Regions from separate parts of the Homo sapiens genome. Here region 2 is linked to region 1. Evidence: promoter capture Hi-C in 16 types of primary human blood cells and fetal thymus (Javierre and others, 2016). All regions are on one chromosome and are shown on one strand. The core of a region is centred on a gene start or on the middle of the fragment in contact, and the rest is flanking DNA. Distances in the headings are between cores, read along the strand shown.

Region 1 (4,825 bases), core at 612-3,111:
ATCCAGGTGTCTTCCTTCCCGTTAATTCCTACATAACCACAGGCCCTCGAAACTACAGGATGCCCTTTTCCTCCATCAAGTTCCTTCTTCCAGTGCTTCTGAGAGGCCCCAAGGAACACTTTCGTGTTCCACAGACCTGTTGGGGCTGCGTCTTGTCCTCTCGGCCAGCCACTTGGGACCAAAGCCTGCTCTTCTCCCTAAGCGTCCCTTGTAACCTGTTTTTCTCGCTGTAGCTTCCCCACACTGCCTTGTCATCAAAGTCATCAAAAACCCTCTATCCATCATGGTTCATTCAGTAGCACAGAAACCTCTCCAGTCTTTCAGACCAAGGGACTTTAATGTAAAGGAGCTCGTCACCCAGAGGATGAAGGAGCTGGGACACTAATCAGGACAGACAGTTCAGAGATTTCCCCAAAGCAGGAAGCTGTGCCATCCCACCAACTGAAAGGAAAGATGAGGGGAGAAGGTGTTGCCAGAGCCAGGAGCTGGCCTCCAAACAGGAACAAGAAAGACATAAGGGGTTGCCTGGCTGATGGACTGTCCAGAGGGAGCCAGAACTGCAGAGGGATATGGCCATTGCTGGGGAAGCCACTCAAACAGAAAACGAGGGGAGAAATGCTCTGATCTCTGCCTCCCCAGTCTTCCCCCAGGGGCTAAACCTATCAGAAAGCAGTTGATAAAGGAGTCTAGAAAATGTAGTTTCCTGCAGTTTCAGGAAATGACTGGCATGGGCCCTACCTTAATTCCTCCAAAGCACAGCTTAGATTTGGCTGTTTTGTCAAACAAACTTTAGCAATCAGGGCTGATAACAATTACAATTCAGGAAAGAAAAACTTAAACACCGATCTCAGCATATCACAGCCCATTACACCCAACCCGTTGGCAGGATCCCTGCTAAAATTTCGCTTGCCTTTGTGTGCTTGGGGCCAGGCAAACTCTCCCCAGGGGCAGGACCCTCCAATCGTGTCCACCCTGACCAGAGTCCAGGCCCCAGGGCCCTTCTACCTTCTCCAGGCCCTGCAGGAAGGAGAAAACCATTTCCTAAACACCTGTCCCTTCATTCACACGAAGCTCATGTGCAGATCCTGCCCTACGTGGCAAAATGATGGGAGAGCAGCCTGAATCTTCATCGTCCCGAACCAAAGCCCCATTCATGAAGTTCAGCCCCATCTCTAGCACAGCAGAAAGAATCACTGAAGTTTGAGTTCCATTTTTTTTCTAAACTTTTGCAGATCCTAGACCCAAAGGCTCAAGGTAAGAGCGGCTGGGCTTCCTCACCCCCAACGGCCTCTCTAGGGGAGAGCTGTTCCCAAGCCCACCCCAAGCGTGGGGACCTGCCTTGATATGGAGGATCAAGGAGGAGCATCGGGTGCCCTCAATCTCCTCCTGCCAGAAAAGCAAAGGAGTCACAGCTTTTCCTTTGCTGCAAGAAACATTCTGGGACCTTTTTTTTCCCCCTCTGTTGTCCAGTTATTTTCATCAGGGTAAATCCCCTAGGAATAGAATTATTAAAGCAAAAGATATGTATGTGGTGTAGGCTTTTGATCCACAGTGCCAAATTGCTTTTTGATAAGGCTGCATATCGTGGATTATTCTTGCCTTTTCTGCCCCTCAGCTCCTTGATAAACCACTTGGGATGAATCAGCCACCGGACCAGATAAACAAGCCAGCCTGTTACTATTGCTGTTTTCTGCAAGTCGGAAGGGAACTCCCTTAGATCCCGCCCAGAACCTGGAATTCCAGAGCACACAGGGCCAGGACACCTTTGTACCCCTGCTCCCCACCGGCACAGGTCCCACCCACCCCCTTCTCCCCGCCCCATGCCCGGGTGGAGCCAGCTGCCAGGGCGCCAAGACTCCCAGCCCTCTCTCTGTGCACGGCAGAGTAGAGGCCAAGGGAGGGCTCTGTGCCAGCCCCGATGAGGACGCTGCTGACCATCTTGACTGTGGGATCCCTGGCTGGTGAGTGCCCATCTACCCTGTGGTCAGACCTCCCTTATCCCAGGGGCCAACGATCAGGGTCATCTCCCCAGCACCCTCCCCAGCCCGAGCATAGCCAGTTTCAGTTTCTCCCCTGCTAGGGCTGAGCAGGGTGCCGGGTGTTCACGGAGAAGCAAATGCCCAGCTTAGTTTGCTGGGGGCATGAGAGGGTGCCTCAGACCCTGGGTTCTTCCAGGGACCCAAAGGACCCTCGGGTCTTGAGGGATATAGCCAGCTGTCTGAACTGGGGGTGCTGGATCGCTGCACCTCAGTGAATGGAGAATTGGCCTGGAGGAGGCAGACATCCTTCGGTCCCTCAAACGGTGTCGGCACAGTTTGTACCATCCTTCCTCTGCCTCTCACTTGGCACTGGCCTGACAGGGGAGGAGGAGGAAGGACCGGGGGAAACGAAGCTTGAGTTCACTATTGCCTCCCTCCATGCCCCTGCAGGGCCTCTTTGGCCCCTTTTGTTATCATAGATCTGAAAGAGCATTTTCTCCTAGAGTGGCCAGGTCTGCTACATTAATAGGTCTTAAGACACAGGACTCATTTGGAAACAGGTCTTAAGGGCATAGTGTTCAAAGCCAATAAAGTGAGCGGAGTGGGGGGCTCATCATTATGGAGAACGTTACATGAGACCCTAGACTCTCTCTCTGCTCTCCTGGTGCATTGCATGAAATTCAGGGAACTTCCTTAGGAAGTCAAAGCATAGTCCTGATTGAGGATGGCGAGCAGGTATGGCCTCGGCCAGGCCCTCCTTGCTCAAGTGCAGGACGAGGCCCACGAAAAGGCAGAGCTTCCCACCTTCTCTGCCACTGTCCCGCCAGGGCTGCCTGCGTCTCCAGGGCTTCCAGCTCTGTGGGACCCCCTCCAGTCTGCTTCCCAGCATCAAGCTGGGCGTTCCAGGAAGATGTGAGGCACCCCCTTGAGGCACCAAGACACGTCCCTTTAGACCCTCAGCCATACTGGTTAGAAATCCTAGAGGCTCCCAGCCCTTTGAGATGGGGGACCCCAAGAAATAGCCCTTAGGAGATTGTCAAGGGTCAGCTGCCTCGCGCTGCACACACCGGGCCCTCACCCCCCCAATCTTAGGCTGACTCCAGAGCATGTGGAATTGTTTCTTGTTTGTGTATTTTTCCTTAGCTTCCCAGCTGGTTGACAGAACATTGTTTTTCCACATGAATGTGAAAAAACAAGTTGCCTTTTATAAATCCGCCAGGCTGCCAGGCTCCACACAACACATGTCTCCCCAGATTTCACAATATAGACTTTCACCCGGGAAGTGCCGAAGCAACACAGGCTGAGGAATGGATGATAGATTTGAGGAGGAAAAGGAGCGAGGAGGGTGGGAGAAGAGGGGGAGATCTTGTTAGACCCTGACATCCCTAAAAGACAGGAGTGGGCCTAGGTTCACTTACCCCACTTCAGGAAGCTAACTGCAGTTCCCTCCTGAAAAGTGGTGCCAACCTCCACGTAGCCCAGGGTCCTTTGCCTTGGCAACATGCCCCCACCTCAGCCACCAGCCTCCTTGCAACCCAGATGGGCCCTCTATTTCCCACCCAGAACACTGACCTCAACCAGCAACCGTTCCCGCTGCAGACTCTACCCCAAGCCTTGATGGAGCCTGGCTTCTCAAAGCCCACCCTCACCCTTCTGCCCTGACCCACCACCCAACCAGAAGCCACTGTTCAGGTCTGACCTTGACTGGACTCCTTTCCTCAACTTTAGACTCAGCCCTGAATCCAGGACCCCTCCCTCCAGAACTGACCCCAATTCCACCCAGCCTCACATCCAAACAAGATGTCAGCTACATCCTAAGGCTCCACGGCACAGCCGTCACCTTGCGTAGAGGCAGTAGACCCCTCCCCGCGCCATCCCTAAGGCCCCATTCTGGGGACTCCAGGAAGCCTGAAGACATTTTGCAGCTGCTGGGCCAGAACCCAAATTCAGAGAGGAGGGCAGCCTTCGAGGTTGGCCAGAGGATGTGCAGCGGGGTCGGACCATTCTTCCGTCCCCATCGGTCCTCGCCAAGCCTGAGGACCCCTCTTGTGTGTAGAGTTGGAGTAGGGGAATCAATAACTGTCTGCTCCCTCACACCTTGGGCCCACTGGCAGTCGTAGACGTGTCTGGGGAAGGAGAGGCACAGACATATTCAAGACACACACCCAGGCCGCAAGGCCTTGACCCAGCTGGGGTTGCTTAACATTTTCCCACCTGTTTATTTCCCACGCCAGCCGGCCAGGGCCTCCGAGCTCCGAGCCAGCTGCCAGCTTGGGCCGCCATTTTCCCGCAGGCTCTTGCTCTCCACAGCCCAAGCCTGGGGGCCTGAGGGAAGGGTTTTATAAGTTAAGGACTCTTTGTTTACAGTGCAGATTGCTTTAGAGGCTGCAGCCCCTCCCCAGCCCCTTCCTTGAGGCTCAGGCCCTCACTGCCCTTCCCTTAACAGAAGCAGAAGTGGGCTGGACAAAGACCTAGCCTGGAAGAGAGGGCTGTGGACTCTTCAATGGCCAGCTTCTCTTCTCCTCTCTCTTCTCCTCCTCCCTAAATTCATCCCTTTATCAGGTGCTCAGGTCCCTGAAGCCCCCCACCCTCATATAAAAGGGTGAACAAGATAGCCCCCTCCCTACAGAGCGAATGTCTTCCCTTCCCAGGTCTCCTCCCTTCAGACTCAACACATGTACATAGGGGCCTGTTAGACACTAAACACATTCACAGACGCCAACCCGCTCTATCCGCCCCACAACCAGTCTAGCACTGGGATGAATATTGTAGGTTCTTCACATGCTAACTGTGATGCTGGGCGGCAGCTCTCTCTGAGCCTCAGCTCATTCATCAAATGGGGATAG
Region 2 (4,825 bases), core at 821-3,320, 680 kb before region 1:
GCCTGTTGTTGTTTGGGGTTTTTTGTTGCAATGTTAATTCAAGTTTTTGTTTTTTACCTTCATTAGCCTCTGGCCTTGAATTCTTGATATATGCAGAGAATTTGGCAAAGATGTCCATTCCAGCAGTATTTGATTCTGGGTGTTTTGGTGAAAGCTTTAAGTACCTAAATAGAAAAAGTGATATGGATTATAGATCCTTCAAAGATGAATTAGCATAAGTTCTCTCAAACCACCATGCTAGCAGTTACTAGACGTCTTTTAATAGTTATTACTATAAGAAATACCATCATTTGTTTTCTATGGTATTTTTAAAAACTGTTTTTTCCTTACGAGACAAAGCTCTGCACTATGTTTTTGTTCACATATTAATATTCTTGGCAACCACAGGGCATGTGCACTCCACCTCCATCTGATAAATTAGAATGCTGGGGAAACAGTTGACTTGTTCAGAGATTTCTGCCAGGCCAATGGGAGTCTTGGAATGAGATTGCTAGAGCAGTGCTGTCCAAGAGAACTTTCTGTGATGATGGAAATGTTCTCTATCTTCATTGTCCAGTACAGTAGCCACTAGTGCCATGTACCTATTTGAATATGAATTTAAATTAATCACAAACAAAATTAAAAATTCACTTCCTCAGTTGCACTAGTCACATTTCAAGTGCTCAGTAGTCACCAGACAGCACAGCTCACGCGCCTTCTCAAACAGCAGTGCCAACCAGATCCTTAGTATGTCCTGCACTAAACCAGCCAGAGAACCCCAACGGCAGGAAAAGCGCCTAGGCTGGTCAAGCATCATGATCACCCATAGCAGGTTAAGGACAAAAACAAAAGGAGGCGGATCAATCGCTTGAAACCTACACCTGGGATTTCCCAAAACCTCCCTTATATTACACATTCCCTAGAATATTTATGAGGGTAGCACCGAACAACAACAAAATGAGATGTCAGAAAGCACACTGACAAGTGTTCTATTGTGTTGTCAAATTTTTCTACTTTTAGAACAGATGTAATACACCAGCTTTCTAAAACACACACAAAAATGTATATTTCACTGTTTAGATTTAAAACACACATACTCTGTGTATATTTCTTCTTCAAACTGGAAAATATATGAAAAAGCTCAATTATTCATCTTCCCTTTAGGAGGACTCATGTCAGCCCCAGGAGTCAGGGCTAGAAGAATTCAGATTCTTAGCCCCATTTTAGGGAAGATTAATCAGCTTGAAGGTCCTGCAAAACGTCACTAGAAAATGGACTTGGGAGCAATAAGACTTTAGAAAAAACCTTACAGTGTACTAATTATTTCAACTCATTTATTTGAAGACATTGTCTTGCCAGCTTTCTTTAAAAACGAAGGGGAAGTAGTTTTCAAAATTCAGTTCAGTTGCAAGTTGTGTTTCAGCTTTTATATTCATGTATCTTCTGTTTACTATTTTGAATTCAGGAAGAGATATATCTTCTAAATATTGGGCAGAGTACTATATTGGTAAGGAAGATATAAAATATCTATGGAACACCTATATGCTCAAGACATCTTTTTTAATAAGTGTACCTAGTCTCTAGATAGCTCTCATTTTTTAAGCTTAAAGATTTATCTTATAAACACAATTATTTACATAAAGAGTTTTTCTGTAAAAATTACAGTGAGTTTCACCTGAATTTAGATATCTATATCTATCTAGCCATACATTAACCACACATCGCCAACTATAGGGCCCTTTACCCTCTCCATTTTCTTTGTTTCTGCCTGGGCTGAAACAGTTAATCACAGATCCACCATCCCTGGATTTTCCTTGACTATACAAACAAGCCTCCAGTTTAAATGTTTGTACTGCTTGTGATACAGGACCATCATTGACTCATTTCAAACAAAAAATAGCGCAGTGAACATAATGCCTTTTCAATACATCTATGTCTTCCTATAGCCAAGTTTCCCAAATTCTCCTTTTCCGCAACCACTATTTAGCTGTACCTAATTGTACTAATGAAGTAAGCCTCATAGTTCTTAAAATAATTTTCGGGAAGGCAGGCTTGAATTACAGATCATTTATATATTCATCATTCATACATACAGTGTAATTCTTGTAATATGCCCTGTTGTCCCTCTGAGATGTATTACTAATTTTGTACTTTTGTGTGTGTGTGTGTGTGTGTGTGTGTGTGTGTGTGTGTGTGTGACAGGGTCTCCCTCTGTCACCCAGGGTGGAGTGTAGTGGCAGGATCTTGCTCACTGCAGCCTCAACCTCCTGGGCTCAAGCGATCCTCCCACCTCAGCCTCCTGAGTAGCTGGGACTACAGGCATGTGCCACCACACTTGGCTAGCTTTTTGTATTTTTTTGTAGAGACGAGGTTTCCCCATGTTGCCCAGGCTAGTGTTGAACTCCTGGGCTCAAGTGATCCTCCTGCCTCAGCCTCCCAAAGTGCTGGGATTACAGGCCTGAGCCACTGCACCCAGCCTGTACTATTAATTTAATGCACAGAATAGTATAGCTATAAGAGAATGTTCACCTCAGATCTCTCATTTTACCTAAAAGGAAATTATGTTCCAGAAAGCTTACACACTTGGCCCCCAAATCACTCAGCTAATTAAAAGTATTGACAAACGAGACCAAGCACAGTGGCTCATGCCTGTAATCCCAGCACTTTGGGATGCCAAGGTGGGCGGATCAATTGAGGTCAGGAGTTCGAGACTAGCCTGGCCAACATGGCAAAACTCTGTCTCCACTAAAAATACAAAAATCAGCCAGGCATGGTAGCGGGTGCCTGTAATCCCAGCTTCTCAGGAGTCTGAGGCAGGAGAATTGCTTGAGACCAGGAAGCAGAGGTTGCAGTGAGCAGAGATCATGCCACTGCACTCAGCCCGGGTGACAGAGCGAGACTGCGTCTCAAAAAAAAAAAGTATTGACAAACTAAAACTGAAATCTCCTGTCCCCAGGTCTAGTGTTTTTGTTTGTTTGTTTGTTTCTATTACAGATTAGATTATCTCTAAAAGATAAATCAAATTCTAAACCAGTAGGTTCAAAATCAACTTTTTTGCATCTTCCCCAAACATTACATTGTAATTTATGCATTATTATTGGCTTTAGCAAATAGCTTGATCAAGCAATGGTTTTCAATTATTGTGAGAACTCATTTTAACACTTAGCAAAAGGGAGGCAAATAATAAAAGGCTAAGTGTCAATGACAGAATAGACATGAGCACCCAGGGTATTTAGACTTTCAGATAAGTCCTTAATTCTGCTTACATCACAGACTCTTAACATTTTAGACTAGCTAAGAATGTTTCCATGCTTTTAGGAAAGATCTCAGGCATTTTCTCCTTTCTGGTGTAAATATAAAAATGAAGGCTGATTAGCCTTGTAAATTCCTTTTTTGTATGTCTTTTTTTTTTTTTTTTTTGAGACAGAGTTTTGCTCTTATTGTCCAGGCTAGAGTACAGTGGCGCAATCTCCGCTCACTGCAACCTCCGCCTTCCGGTTTCAAGCGATTCTCCTGCCTCAGCCTCCCAAGTCGCTGGGATTACAGGCGCCCGTCACCACGCCCAGCTAATTTTTTGTGTTTTTATTAGAAACAGGGTTTCACCATGTTGGTCAGGCTGGTCTCAAACTGCTGACCTCATGATCCACCCGCCTTGGCCTCCCAAAGTGCTGGGATTACAGGCGTGAGCTACCACACCCGGCCTGTATGTCTCATTTTTAAAAAAGGTTTAATAACATTTTATAGCATGCCCCTCCAAATTTATCTCGCTTCCTTCTATTTTATCCTTTTATCAGTAAGTTAGCTAAGTATATCTAGGCTGTTTCAGTTAAAAATCCAAGTCTCAAAGTTTTTTAGCAAAGTGGTTTCTTCATTCAAGCAAGAACTATAAAACATACACAAAAATACTTTCCCCAGAGAAGAAGAAAAAGTTCACTTTAAAACCTATAGCCACACATACCAGTAAAAGTTATCTGATTTGAGCTTTTCATTAGCCTCTCAATGTTAAGCAACTCTAGAATAGACAATTGCCTGTATTTATATTTGTCATGATTAAATCAGGAAGTGTTCACAAAAAACCACTCAGTTCTCAGTACATCAAATGACAAAAACATGTTATTAGAAATGCTAGATTCCAGTCTACAAGCTTGCACAATTCTTCTCCTTTTTCTCCTTATCCTATTTAGAAACAGTCTTACAAGCAGAGCCTGAAGAAGACTAGCAATAAAGACCTGAGACCTCCTTGTTCTGGAAGGAAAAGGCAGTGAGACAGAATGGTCCCTGGGTGCCCTAGAACAATATAGCACAATAGAGGGAAGGAAAATAAATGCAGCTTGTGATCCCAGAAACTCTTCCTCCTCCCACTCATCCCCTAGAAACAATTCTGCATGATGAAAATTATGCTAATTAATTAGCATTTCACATTCTGGGTCCATAGAGCCCACTAAGAAGGCGACATTCCCACTTCAAACATGCTGTTTCAATGCATACAAATAAATAAAAATTCATCAGAAGAGTTAAGATTCACCTGCTTTTTCAAAGCATTCACTGAATTAAGTAAGGGCAGGCACTGTGGCTCACACCTGTAATCCCAGCACTTTGGGAGGCCAAGGAGGTCGGATCACTTGAAGTCCCAGCCTGGCCAACATGGTGAAACCCCGTCTCTACTAAAAATACAAAAATTAGCCAGGCGTGGTGGTGCACATCTGTAATCCCAGCTACTCAGGAGGCTGAGGCAGGAGAATTGCTTCAACCTGGCAAGTGGAGGTTGCAATGAGCCAAGATGCTGCCACTGCACTCCAGCCTGGGCGACACAGCAAGGCTCTGCCTCAAAAAAAAAAAAAAAAAA

The links. The method cuts DNA at HindIII sites, captures the fragments that hold promoters and counts their contacts. A CHiCAGO score of 5 or more calls a contact.
Region 2: a contact is called between a fragment that was not itself captured here and the fragment with the promoter of IL22RA1 in region 1, in 4 of 17 cell types (non-activated CD4 T cells, total CD8 T cells, activated CD4 T cells and 1 more). The highest score is 7.8, in non-activated CD4 T cells.

The regions. Positions count from the first base shown.
Region 1 is chr1:24,140,176-24,145,000 of GRCh38, reverse strand. IL22RA1 (interleukin 22 receptor subunit alpha 1) reads left to right here and starts at 1,861. Exons shown (of 7, transcript NM_021258.4): 1 at 1,861-1,961. The coding sequence starts at 1,919. The HindIII fragment of the contact is 5,016 bases long and covers 1-2,394 here.
Region 2 is chr1:24,822,349-24,827,173 of GRCh38, reverse strand. CLIC4 (chloride intracellular channel 4) reads right to left here. Exons shown (of 6, transcript NM_013943.3): 4 at 58-164. Among named protein-coding and RNA genes, the nearest start is that of CLIC4, 79 kb to the right of the region's middle. The HindIII fragment of the contact is 971 bases long and covers 1,585-2,555 here.